Regions from separate parts of the Homo sapiens genome. Here region 1 is linked to region 2. Evidence: promoter capture Hi-C in human tissues and cell types (Jung and others, 2019). All regions are on one chromosome and are shown on one strand. Each heading gives the region's core, a stretch centred on a gene start or on the middle of the fragment in contact. The rest is flanking DNA. Distances are from core to core; before and after follow the strand shown.

Region 1 (7,147 bases), core at 3,072-5,571, 1.0 Mb after region 2:
GTTAAAGCATAATACTTAGCATATAATGAGCAATGAGGACAAACAGAGGTCACTTTTGTCACCATCTTGGTTTTGGTGGGCTTCAGCCCAGTTTCTTTACTGTAAACTTTATTAGCAAGGTCTTTATGACCTGGATCTTGTGCAGACCTCCTATCTCATCCTGTGACTAAGAACGCCTTAGCTTACTGGGAATGTAGCCCAGCAGGTCTCAGTCTTATTTTTCCTACCCCTTATTCAAGATGAAGTTGTTCTGGTTCCAAAGCCTCTGACACAAATAATGTAACAGAAATATTTATAATATGAGCATGATTATATTGTCAAATATAAAATAAAATATCATAATGGCAACAATCAATTTTATGTGTCACCTTGACTAGACCACAGTCTCAACTACTCAATCACACACTAGCCTAGGTGTTGCTCCCATGGCTTAACACAGGTGTTAGTAGAGACTGCCATTATTTTTTCCCAGTCATGAAGTCACAAAGAGTGTTTTAGATAATCTAGGTGGTGCTGATTCAAAGAGAGTGTAACAGAAGACCATAGGACTCCGTGGTAGATGGCAGATGCAGGTCTTCCCAGGAATTCCAGCCTGTCTTTCCCGACGGCCAGCAGTATTGACCTTAGGCTGCCCGGGGAGACCCTACGATTACTGTCACCCAGAGCTCACTGCACAATGGAGTGTCCATCCTCAGCTTGTTGTAACCGAGCGAGTTAGAGAGAAACGCCGCACTTTGAGATGAATTCAGGAGTCCTTTATTAGCTGGCAACTGAGAGATGGCTAACGCTGGAAATTCTCTCAGCCCCGAAGAAGGTGCTAGATTTTCTTTTATACTTTGGTTTAGAGAGGGGAGGGGGAGCCTAACTGTAGCATTCTAACAGGAGTAAAACAGGCAAAAAAGTTGAAAGGACAAATGGTTACAGGCAAACAGTTCCAGGTGCAGGGGCTTTAAATTCATCACAAGATGATAGGTGTGGGGGCTCTGGGTGTTATCTGCCAGACACAAATGCAGGGGCTTTAGGGTACCATCACCTGGCCAAATTCCTGGGAACTGCGGACACAGCTTGCCACAGTACCTTATCAGTTAATCGCACTCTTTGAGATGCTGGGAGTCAGCTTAAACAAGTTAAGTCCTTGAGGAAGGGGGTGGGTGAGGAGCCCTTGATGTCTTACAAATGAAGGAGCCAAATGGAGTCTGTTCCAGCTTCCTGAGCTAAGGGAGAGTCTATTCATATTAAAACAAGATAAGGTATCACAAGCTCTCCTCAAAGTCACAGGTGAGAGTCCAAACTTTGTGACAGTGTGAGAAGCATAAGATCAGCTCTACATCAACATCCCATTGGAGAAAACTAGTATTATTCCCTTCATGACTAATGCCTGCTTCATTTTCCAAATGCCTCCATGCACAGAAGACAGCAGGATTTTCCAGGCAATAGTGAGTGAGGAAGACCCCTCAGCCTACCCAGCTCCTGCGGACCTGAGCCTTGGAATTTAGACTACAGAAAACACATCCTCTGTTTTCAGGAAAGAGAAGAAGAAAGGGATCTGTGAGAATCAAGTCTACTGGGAAGGAAAATGGATTAGCAGAAAGAGGGTCAACTGAATCAGTCTGAGTCAGATGTGCCCAGTTTCACAAGATGAAGGGGGATTGCTGTGAAAACCATCAGGTTTTAAGAACCCTGACCCTGGGTGAGCCTCTCTCTTGGCTCCCATCAGAACTCAAAGCCTGTTCTAATCAGAGATTCCCATGGAGGTCTCTGCCCTGAGTCTAATTGGAAAACATTCCCCAGGTTTCCCTGGGATTCCTCAAAACTCTCACCCTGTTGACCACGAAAGGATTATTTCTGCCCCCAAAGTGACACTGTGGCTTCTGTGGAGGTGAGGATGTGTCCTCCTGTTTTAAAAAAAAAAAACAGACACAAAAAGGAAAAAAAAGGTTGCATTTAGAGACATCAAATATTAGTACAGGATTGTAAATCTGGAGAAGTTCCCCGGGGAAATTTGACAATGAGGCCGCCCCAGGCCATCACAGGAAGCCAGCCCTCAGCAGCACCTGCACCTGCCCTGGAGACAGCCCCGTGCTCAGTGTGCTGTCGCCCCCTGGTGGTCCCAAGGGACCCCTGCAGGGAGGTTTGTGTCTGGGCTCACACTGACTTCCCCTCACTGTGTCTCTCGCACAGTAATAAACAGCCGTGTCCTCGGCTCTCAGGCTGTTCATTTGCAGATACAGTGAGTTCTTGGCGTTGTCTCTGGAGATGGTGAATCGGCCCTTCACAGAGTCTGCGTAGTATATGGTACTACCACTACTACTAATGTATGAAACCCACTCCAGCCCCTTCCCTGGAGCCTGGCGGACCCAGTTCATTTCATAACTACTGAAGGTGAATCCAGAGGCTGCACAGGAGAGTCTCAGGGACCCTCCAGGCTGTACCAAGCCTCCCCCAGACTCCACCAGCTGCACCTCACACTGGACACCTGCAAACAAAGAGACACCAAGGTCAGAAACTGCCACACATATCCACTGTTTCTCTCACTCATATCCACACACACTAAATCTCTCTAGTTTTCCATGAATCACCTTCTAAAATAGCAACAAGGAAAACCCAGCACAGCCCCAACTCCATGGTGAGTCCTCTGTGTTCAGTGCTGATCACCAAGTGGAAATGCCTTGGAATCCAGGGCTAAGGCACCTCTCTGAGAGCTGCAGGGTCAGGGTTGGGTTGGTTTTCATCAGTAGAGGGAGGGCCCTATTTGCATATCTCCTACTATATAGCAAGCTCTAGGGTGGGACCCTTGAGGAGTAGGCTGTACCCAGATAAGACGACGGTGCCCTGTAGAAGTTTGCTGGCAATGATTGCATTTGGAAAATATGCTGTCTTATTATGAAATTGTGCTGTGATAAACACTTTGCACTAATCACCCTATTTCATTTTAAATATTCATGTAAACTATGTTCTGTAGGAGACAATATTTTCTCCATTTACAGAAGTGGAAGTAAACCCACACATGGGGGGGCTCTGTATGCGTCTCGGAGCTCATGTCTGGGATGAGTGAACCCCGGTATCTGGCCCTGTGCTCTTCATCACTGTCTCTGACATCCCCCTAAACCAACTCCAGGACAAAGCTGGATGTGTCTAGTGTTTTTATCAGAACCCACATTCCGTAATAAGAGCATGTGTGGTTTTGCTGCCCTCCAGCACTCTTCTGAAAATATGGAGAGAACTAGGATCCAGGCACATTAATTTTCAGGTACTTCTGACATTGAACTTATTTTTTCTGTCTTTCTATTACTCTTTCCTTGTCTAAGTTTCCATTTGTTTGCTTGTAAGACATTTTATGAGGCTTAATTGAAAGATAATAAACTTCACATATTTAAAATGTACAACTAATAAAAATGATGTAACTGCTATCATTACCAAGAAAGTGGACAAGTGAATTCTTCTCAACATTTCCCCTTGTTCTGCTGTATTCCTCCTCCTCTCCCCCTCCCTTCTTCTACCATTACCCCAGGCAACTACTTATCTTCATTATTTTACTTCAGATGCATTTTTATTTATCAGAATTTATAAAAATGAAATTACATAGTATATATTCTTATTTGTTTAGCTTATTTTACTCAACATAAATACTTAGATATTTTACCTTGTTGCTCTGTGTATCAGGCATTAATTTATTATAAATGACGGGTAGTATTCCAGTGAACACATTTACCATAATTTGTTTTTCTATTAAGAAGCTTAACAATATTTGTCTGGGCGGCAAGCCACCCAGGTGCTGAGGCAAGAGACTGAGGGCACAAGCTGTTCCAGTGTAATGAAGAGAATATGTAAAATAAGAATAGTTGTACTAGAAATAGGTTATAGATATGATTATATATGAATATCATTAATCATCAGTCTGTAGCATTACTCTTTATTCCAACATTATAATAATCCTTGCTCTACAATTATAACCTAGGAAAAACCAGGCCATACAGCAATAGGAGCTGAAGGGACACAGTGAGAAGTGACCAGAAGACAGGAGTGTGAGCCTCTGTCACGCCCGGACAGGGCCACTAGAGGGCTCCTCGGTCTAGCGGTAGCGCCAGTGCCTGGGAAGGCACCCATTACCCATTACTTAGAAGACCTGGAAAGGGAGTCTCCCTTTCCCCGGGGGAGTTAGAGAAGACTCTGCTCCACCACCTCTTGTGGAAGGCCTGACATCAGTCAAACCTGCCCGCAGCCCTCCAGAGGCCTAAACGTCTCTCTGTGATGCTGTGCTTCAGCGGTCACACTCCTGTTTCACTTTCATGTTCCACTCTGTACACCTGGCTCCGCCCTCTAGATAGCAGTAGCAGAATTAGTGAAAGTATTAAAGTCTTTGATCTTTCTGAGAAGAGAATGGAATAAATAATGACCTAAGCTGTCCTCTCTCTCTCTCCGCCTCGGCTGCCAAACAGGGAAGTGCCCTCTGTCTGGTGGACACGTGACCCACATGACCTTATCAATCATTGCAGATGACTCACACTCCTTACCCTTCCCCTTTTGCCTTGTATCCAATAAATAACAGCGGAGCCAGGCATTCGGGGCCACTTCTAGTCTGTGTCTTGGTGGTAGTGGTCCCCTGGGTCCGGCTGTTTTTTCTTCTATCTCTTTGTCTTGTGCCTTTATTTCTACGATCTCTCATCTCTGCACATGGGGAGAAAGATCCACAGACCCTGTAGGGCTGGCCCCTACATATTTGCATTCTTTTTTTACTCTGGGTCTTATTAAAAATTCTTCTACACAGCTTGGAAATGTACATAGATGAATAATATATTTTACTTATGTTTTACAACAACAGTATCAACAAAAATAGATAAACAGAGGAGCTGGAATTTTGGAATTTTTTTTTTTGAGACAGAGTCTCACTCTGTCGCCCAGGCTGGAGTGCAATGGTACGACTTGCAAACTCTGCCTCCTGGGTTCAAGCTATTCTCCAGTATCAGCCTCCCAAGTAGCTGGGATTACAGGTGCCTGCCACCATGCCAAGCTATTTTTTTTTTGTATTTTTAGTAGAGACAGGTTTTACCATGTTGGCCAGGGTGGTCTCAAACTCCTGACCTCAGGTGATCCACATACCTCAGCCTCCCAAAGCGTTGGGATTACAGGTGTGAGCCACCACAACTGGCCATTTTTTAAAAATAATACTTTAGATACTTGAAGTTTTAAGATAAACAGCAAATGTGAAATCTAGGGAGAGGCAAGTTCTTGTAAAGAGTAACAAAGCTGGGGTATGAGCTGAACTGAGGCAGAGTATGGCATGTAAAATGTAGGCTATTACAAGATGAAAACACACATATATATTGGATTGCTTGAAGTCAAGTGTGGTAAATGTGTTGTAGGGTGAATTTCTTAGGGACCACAGACTGAAGAGTTTTCCTATCCTATTGAATCCTTTTTCCCCAAAATGGGGACAGTCACCAAAATTGTTCTGTCCCATTGTGTCTGTCTAGGAGAGAAAAAGTGCCCACCCTTCTGAAAAGCGTTCAGACCCACCTTCCATATCCCCACTGGAGAACAAAGAAATTATTCTGGAGGGGCAAGCCACCAAAACCAGTATCTTAGGGGCACTGGGGCAATCCCTTAGGAACTGAGATGGGAAAAGAGGTCTTCACCTAAGTTCCATTGAGAAGTATCTCCCCTCCTTCTTATTTAATCAGAGCCTTAATCTGCAGTTCTAGTCAGCAAATCTGTAAGGTGATAACACCGAAAGAGAACGTTGGAGCTGTGGGAGGGAACAACTGGGGAAAACAAGAGGACTCCACAGCAGGGAAAAGAGCAAGAACACACAGACCAACATCTCATCTGGAGGAAGTTCAGAAACATTGGGAAGGTCACACCCAGACTCATGTTCACAATATGAACCCAGGAAAGGTCAGAAAATCTCCCTTTATTCTATTGCTTTCCACCAATTTCACAATTGTCAGTTAAATAACATTTAAATCCACCTGAGGGAGCTGAACATGATTCTCTGGAGGAGGGAACAGGTGAAGAGACAAAGCCAAGCAGGAAAGAAAAACAAGATATCACTGGAGGATCTGAAGTCTCTGGTGGACACAGAAGAACAGACTTCAACTTTGATGTCCACTGCAAAAGTGAATGTCAAATATAGTTCTGAGAAGATTCACAGATACTTCCACAGTAAAGGCCTGGCAAAGGTAAAGTGTGGTCAAATACAGGCAGAAATGCATAAAATGAAATAATAAGCCAGTATCCACTGTCCATCCCAGTATCTGTGGCTATCAACAATTATTACATACATTAATGAGAAGTACCAAAGTCGTAATAAACAAATGATCAGCATGAGATTTGTAGATGAAACAGATATTATAAATATCTAATTAAACAAGATATGTAAAGTAACTATGATTCATATGCAAGAATCTCTTAAAGAAATCGTGGACATAGATAGGGAACTGAAATATGAAAATACTAAGAATAAATCAAATGGAAATGCGTAAGAAATCAAAAGCAATGCTGTATGAACATCGAGCAATCTTTTGGCACACACCTCAGTAGAGCTGGCTCAGCTTTTCAATAAAACCATGTGATTAGTATGTCACTAGAAATTTCACAAAGTAAATTGCAAACGAAAAGAGAGTGAAGAAAGAAACTAAACATTAATATCAAAATTATAGTATGTGTATATTTTAAATCTGAGAAGGAGAAATTATAAATACACAGAAACTATTTGAAAAAGATAATAGCGAAGAATGTTCCCAATTTTGTGAAAGAAACTGAACTACAGATCCTAGAAGCAAAGAGAACCCCAAACAGAGTAAATAAAAACAAACACATGAACCACACATCCACCAAGGACACAGTGGTGCACAAGAAAAAGCTCACACATCACACACCACACACACATTTTCTCAGCTTTATTCTTTTTACTTAGTTGTTTTAAAATTATTTATATTTATAGTATTAAGTAGTAGTCTAAAATTAAAAGATATTATCCTATGCATAACTCTGTCTATGCATACCATTATCAAATACACGATTTGGTGCAAATGAATGTAACTACATTGTTAGTTAATTAACTATTTCAAAGAAAAATGGTATTTATTCCTGTCTCTGTGTTGAATCATTTGTAATGTACGCCAATATAATTCTTTTTAATTAAAGG
Region 2 (6,738 bases), core at 2,728-5,227:
TACCCTTTAAATGGATGAATTTTATGGTATTTGAATTATATTTCAATAAATCTGTTAAAGAATCAATGGCCATGCTTGTGTGGGTGCACTTGTTCCATTGATCTGTCGGCTGACCCTCTGCCAATTCAGCCTGTCTCAATTGCTTTAGCTTTATGGTGAGTTAACATCCATTAGTGATGGCTGGGCACGGTGGCTCACACCTGTAATCCCAGCACTTTGGGAGGCTGAGGTGGGTGGATCACGAGGTCAGGAGATCGAGATCATCTTGGCTAACACAGTGAAACTCCGTCTCTACTAAAAATACAAAAAATTAGCCGGGCGTGGTGGCGGCCGCCTGTAGTCCCAGCTACTCGGGAGGCTGAGGCAGGAGAATGGCATGAACCCAGGAGGCAGAGCTTCCAGTGAGCCAAGATCATGCCACTGCACTCCAGCCTGGGCTACAGAGCGAGACTCAGTCTCAAAAAAAAAAAAAACCCAAAAAAACAAAAACAACAACAACAAAAACATCCATTCGTGAGAACCCTCCAACTTTTTCCCTTCTTTTTCAGAATTATTTTGGCAACTAGTTGCTTTTCATTTCTATATACATTTCAGAACAAGGTTTTCTATACCTATAAAATTTCCGACAGGAATTTTAATTGAAATTGCATTAAATCCGTAGTCGTTTTGGAGAGAATTGGTATCTTAACTATATTTGTTCTAATTCAGGAACACAGCATGCCTCTCACATATTTAGGCCTTCTTTGATTTCTTTTATCAGCATTTGGTAGTTTTCAGTATACAAATCCTGTACCAGTCTTGTTAGATTAATACCAAACGAATAAATTTACTGGGGGACCATTTTAAATAGCATTGCTTTTAAAAATTTTGGTTTTCAATTGTTCATTGCTAATATATAGAAACAGGACTGAGTTCTGTGTTTTCATCCTGCAACCTTGCAAAACTCACTTATTAGTATTCTGACTTTTTTGTTGGTAAAATTCTTGGGATTTTCGACATAGACTTTTATGTTATTTATGGATAGGGACATCTTTATTTCTTCCTTTCTAATCTGTATGCCTTTTATTTTTCTGGTTTTATTGCATGGGTTAGGACTGCCAGTACACTGTGGAACAGGAGTGAATAGAGTGGACATCTTTACCTTGTTCCTGATCTTAGGGCTCAGCATTTAGTCCTTCATTATTAAGTATCACATTAGATGCAGAGGTTTTTTTTTTTTTTTTTTTTCTTTTTTGGACAGGGTCTTCCTCTGTTGCCCACACTGGAGTGCAGTGGTGCGATCTTAGTTCACTGCAACCTCTGCCTCCCAAGTTCAAGCGATTCTCATGCCTCAGCCTCCTGAGTAGCTGGGATTACAGGTGTGTGTCACTGTACCCTGCTAATGTGTGTGTGTGTGTGTGTGTGTTTTAAGTAGAGATGGTGTTTCGCCATGTTGCCCAGGCTGGCATAGAACTCCTGAGCTCAGGTGATCTGCCTGCCTTGGCCTCCCAAAGTGCTGGGATTACAGGCGTGAGCCACCACATCCGGCCAGATTGTTTTGTATTTTTTGTAGAGACAGGGTTTCACCATGTTTCCCAGGCTGGTCTTGAACTCAAGCTCAAGCAATCCGCCCACTTTGGCCTCCCAAAATGCTGGTATTAGAGGCATGAGCCACAGTGCCTGGCCTAATTTTTTTTTTAATTAAAAATAACAGATATGGAATCTCTCCATGTTGCCCGGGCTGGTCTTGAACTCCTGGCCTCCCAAAATGTTGAGATTGCAGGGGTGAGCCACCATGCCTGGCCTGTTGTTTTTGTTGTTGCTTTTTGTAGATTCCTTTTATGAGATTAAGCATGTTCCCTTTGCTTTCTAGTTTGCTGAGAGTGTTTATCAGGGATGAGTGTTGAATTCCGTCAAATACTTTCTTTGAATTGATTGAGATGATCACATGGTTTTCTTCTTGAGACTAATATGGTGGATCACATCGATTTATTTTCACATGTTGAACCAGCCTTGCCTTTCTGGGATAGCCTCCATTTGGTTGGGGTATTTGTGTGTGTGTGTTTTTAATGCTGCTTGATTCTATTTGCTGATAATTAGTTGAGGGTTTTTGTGTCATGTTGGCATTGGCGGCTGTTGATTGTCTTTTCTCTTGCAGGTTGGATTTCCTGATTCTTCACATGCAGAGTAATTTTAGATTGTCTCCTGCACATTTAGACATTATGTTATGAGACTGGTCTTATTTAAATCCCATTGAGAATGTTGGCATTTTGTTTTATCATGCAATCAACCTAGTTGGTTTCAGGCCACAAGTTCAAATAGGCTCCTGTGGGTCCTGCCTTCCATGTCGGTTTTGTTTTCAAAGCCTTTGCAGTGGGACTCAGATCTGTCCTTCGTATGCACTGCCCAGTGGCCAGTGTGGGACGTGGGCAGTGGGCTGTCCTTTTGTTCAGTTCTCAGCCTTTGGGATGTGAATGAGGGTTTAGACTTGTACATCATGTATGGCTTGCACAACTTCCTGGGGTTGCTTTTTTTTTTTTTTTTTTTTTGAGACAGAGTCTCACTCTGTTGCCCAGGCTGGAGTGCAGTGGCAAGATCTCGGCTCACTGCAACCTCCATCTCCCGGACTCAAGCAATTCTCCTGCTTCAGCCTCCCGAGTAGCTGGGATTACAGGTGTGTGCCACCACGCCCGGCTAATTTTTATATTTTTAGTAGAGATGGGGGTTTCACCATGTTGGCCAGGCTGGTCTCGAACTCCCGACCTCAGGTAATCCGCCCACATCGGCCTCCCAAAGTGCTGGAATTACAGGTGTGAGCCACCACGCCCAGCCCATGGATTGCTTTCTACTGCTTCTCCCTGCCCACCATCTCTCCAGCGACAGGGGACCACATCTCCTGGGGCTGGAAAGGAAGGCTCTTCTGCCTCAGCGTTTTAGGTGCTTGTAAACCCTATGCCTTGGTCATGGCTTTGGTGGGATACCTAGGGGCTGGGGCATCAGAGAATGGAGAAGAGTAAAAAAACAACCACTACCAAAAAACCCCATCCTCCCAAACCCTAACATCCCCCCGGGCATTCTCCTGCACCCTGGGAGCATTAGGCGACCTTTTTCTTTCCTCCCCTTGTGCCAGGACTAGAGAACTTCTGGAGCTCTCTGTCCTCTTCTGGCTTTCAGGCCGTGTTGAGTCCAGGCCCGGGGATACGGGAAGAGAATCTGGAAGTTCACTACCAGTTGGGTGGTGCCTCAAATTCTGGTCTTTCCACCAAATCTGGTGTCCCTTTACCTCTCTGACCCTCAGTCTCCTCCTATGTCAGAGGGAAGTCACAGCAGTTCTGGGAAGGAGGGCAGGCAGGCAGAAGGTGCCCTCGGGTTCTTCTCTGGCTCACACGGGATGGACAGGATGTGGGGGGAGGGGCTTAGTGCCACCTCAGTGACAAAATGAAGCCCAAGTCCCCAAACCCTAGCTTGCCTCCTGGACGGGCTGGAGAAGAAGGTGGGGGCCGCTCATCATTCCTTTCCTCTGCCCTGAGAAGAAACCTGGGAAGGCTGGGTTTCTCCCCAAAGAGGACAGAGGGTGGCGCGGAGGGCCCCGGCGGCCAGGCCAGCCCCGCGCCTACATCCCTGTCAGCTCCTGGGCCGGTGGGCGCCTGTCCGGCTGAGTGGGGTCGCTCTAGGGGGCGGCAGCGGAGTTTCAGGGCGCGGGGGGCACTGGGCGGGACCCTGGGATTCTGGGCGGTGGGTGAGGAGGGTGGAGACGGGACTCCGCGCCTGGGGGTGCGCGAGGGCGCCCCGCTCCCCAGAGCCACCAGTCCTGCGCGCCGCCGCGCGGTGCTGTCGCCGTGGCAACCGGCGCTGCGGAGGGGGCGGGGCACCGGCACCCCCGCGCTCCCAGGTCCCCAGGTCCGGCGGGGCTCGCGGGCCGAGGGGCGCGGGGCGGGGCCTCTGGGTCGGGGGCGGTGCCGCGCGGGCGGGGGAGGGGCGCGGCGGGAGGAGCCGGCGCGGCCCCGGCAGTGGCGGCAGAGGCTGGGCGGGCGGGCCCGGGAGCGGCGCAGCATCTGCGGGCGGCGGGGTAGGCGCGGGCGCGGGCGGGACTGGCTGGGTGCGCGGCTGCGTCCGCGGAGGGGGCGGCGGGCCTGGGCGACCCTGCACCTCTGGGCCGTGGGGACTGTGGGGTGGGGCGGGGGCCGATGCGGCAGGGGTGAGGCCTGGGGCCGGCGGGGTGACGGGGACCCGGCCCTGCGTGGGGAAGCCTCGGGGGGACAAGCAGAGACGCAGCCTGCTGGGAGCGGCCCAAGCTCTGCACCGGCCCGCGGCGGGAGCACAGCAGCCCCCTCCCGCCCCTCCTCCCGGGGGCTCCGAGGGGTGGTTATGGGGCGAGGGTCCTTGCGGGGCCCGGGCAGTGAAGGGCCTGGAGGCCCCAGAGTCTGTGCCAGGTCTGAGCCGCGGGGCGTGGGGGGAGGAGGGGCCTCGGCCGGGGCCCAGGAGACCCAGGACAGGTGGGCCTGGGGCCAGGTCCCTACGGAGAGGTGGCCGGGCCGGGCTCTGGCTTGCCGGGGTAGGGGCTCCGCTAGGGGCTGGAGTCCGTCCCTTCGCCAGCGCAGAGCCCCTCGGCCCGCATCTGCCAAGTGACTGAGGATCGAGCGACAGCGTAGTGGGGCGGAGGGGCTGGAGGCACGGCCGGAAAGGGTGAGCGGCGCCGTGGCTCCCCCGCTATTTATTTGGCCCCGCCACGCGCGGAGAGGGAGGAAATTCTCAGGCTGCGGCTGCAGCTAGGGGAGGCCCAGGTGGGCCTGGAATGGGCCCAGAGAGGGCTTCCTGGGTCAGACGTGTAGATCCAGTGGACGTGAAAACCGGGTGAGTGTCCCGGTGGGACCCAGAGCGCGGGGAGGCTTGGAGGCAGGGGCATGGGCTGAGGACCCTCAAGGCACCCTCCTCGCGACCTGTCAGAGCTCCGAGGGGTGGGGGTGTCCTGTGTGTGGCTGTGGGGATCCTGGGCGGCGGGTGCTGGGTGGGGGCAGGGGTGGGAGTGCAGAGTTCAACGCTTTCCCGGATCGGTGGGGCCTGCGGTGTCACCAGGGCAGTCCGAGCGCCCGACTGTCACGGGGACATTAAATTTTATGCCTTTGTCTAGACACGGCAGTAAACGGAGCCCCAGGCCTGGGGCTGTGGAGGGGGTGAGGGGCTGGCTGGGAGTAAGCCTGTCAGTGACTTTGGGGTGGGTGCGGGTGTGCGGGCCTCCATTGTCACCCAGGTGTGCACAGGCCCAGGTGCGGGGACTCCGACAGCACGGCCATGAGGACCAGTGCCAGGTGTGTGACAGAGGTGCAGGGGCCTGTGGAAGCCCGACGGGCCTTGGTGGACGGGCTTCCCGAGATTCGAGGGCAGCCACAGGCATCGCCCTGGCGCAGAGGAGCAAAGCAGGGTGGCTCTGCCGGGGCAGAGGGTGGGGGACAACACCTCGCCAAGGCAATGCGGAGCCATGGGGAGCAGGGCAGGCAGTGGCCACGCGCCCAGGATGGTGGACAGGAGGGGAGACCGAGCCTGCCCGTGCAGGGAGGAGGGGCGTGGGGGCTGCCGGGCAGGGGCGGGGAGGCTCGGAGAGGCTTGTGGGACGGATGCATCGGGACCTGGGTGGCTCTCGGTCCGGGATCAGAAAGCCTGGGAGGGCCGAGGCCTCCTTGGGTACTCCAAGAGCGGAGGGGCAGGCCCGCCTCCCTGCCCAGTGCGGCGGCGGGGAGAGGGTATTCCCGGAACTCCGCGGAAACGGCCTGAGGCCAGCAGCGCGGGCGTGGGGTCCGGGCCGCCGGAGCCAGGAGGGAGGGCGGCGCGGGCCCAGCAGTGACAAACCCCCCCGGGCTCCGGGAACGAGCTCGGCGGGCAGAAAACGCGTCCGTTCCGTTTCCTTCCTGGCGGCGGGAACGAGGCCCGGGTGCTCTGGCGAGGCAGCAGCGCCCTCTGGAGGCCTCGCTGTGGTTCGCGGCCGCCGGTTCGCGCATGGGCGCAGGCGTGCGCGATGCCTCGGGGCCCCGGCGCGGAGACCGCGCCTGGTGGGAAGCACGCGGGGTGCGGGGGGCGGGGGGTGTTGGGGGAGGCCGCTCCAGCCCGCACCCTGATCTTGTCTCCTCCGGTCTCCCCAGGTTTCGAGCTCGCCGGGCCGTGTCGCGCCATGCCCGCTGGCTGAGCGCCGCAGGGCCTCGTCCCGCCAGGCGTGGGGGCCGCGCGCGCCCAGGCCGGGGCCCGGCGGCCGACCATGGTGCTGCCGCCCCCGGACCGGCGCCACGTGTGCCTGACCACGCTGGTGATCATGGGCAGCATGGCCGTCATGGACGCGTACCTGGTGGAGCAGAACCAGGGCCCGCGCAAGATCGGCGTGTGCATCATCGTGCTGGTGGGCGACGTGTGCTTCCTGCTGGTGCTGCGCTACGTGGCCGTGTGGGTGGGCGCCGAGGTGCGCACGGCCAAGCGCGGCTACGCCATGATCCTGTGGTTCCTTTACATCTTCGTGCTGGAGATCAAGCTCTACTTCATCTTCCAGAACTACAAGGCGGCGCGGCGCGGCGCGGCGGACCCCGTGGCGCGCAAGGCGCTGACGCTGCTGCTGTCTGTGTGTGTGCCCGGCCTGTTCCTGCTGCTCGTGGCGCTGGACCGCATGGAGTACGTGCGCACCTTCCGCAAGCGCGAGGACCTGCGCGGCCGCCTGTTTTGGGTGGCGCTGGACCTGCTGGACCTGCTGGACATGCAGGCCAGCCTGTGGGAGCC

Evidence for each region. The method cuts DNA at HindIII sites, captures the fragments that hold promoters and counts their contacts. A contact is called where the count stands out against the background at its distance.
Region 1: a contact is called between a fragment that was not itself captured here and the fragment with the promoter of TMEM121 in region 2, in 1 of the 25 tissues and cell types used here (lymphoblastoid cells).

The regions. Positions count from the first base shown.
Region 1 is chr14:106,535,641-106,542,787 of GRCh38, forward strand. It overlaps IGH and IGHV3-48. Among named protein-coding and RNA genes, the nearest start is that of LINC00221, 57 kb to the left of the region's middle. The HindIII fragment of the contact is 5,443 bases long and covers 1,601-7,043 here.
Region 2 is chr14:105,522,606-105,529,343 of GRCh38, forward strand. TMEM121 (transmembrane protein 121) reads left to right here and starts at 3,978. Exons shown (of 2, transcript NM_025268.4): 1 at 3,978-4,048; 2 at 6,117-6,738. The coding sequence starts at 6,230. RefSeq lists a silencer at 5,636-5,845. The HindIII fragment of the contact is 20,488 bases long and covers 1-6,738 here.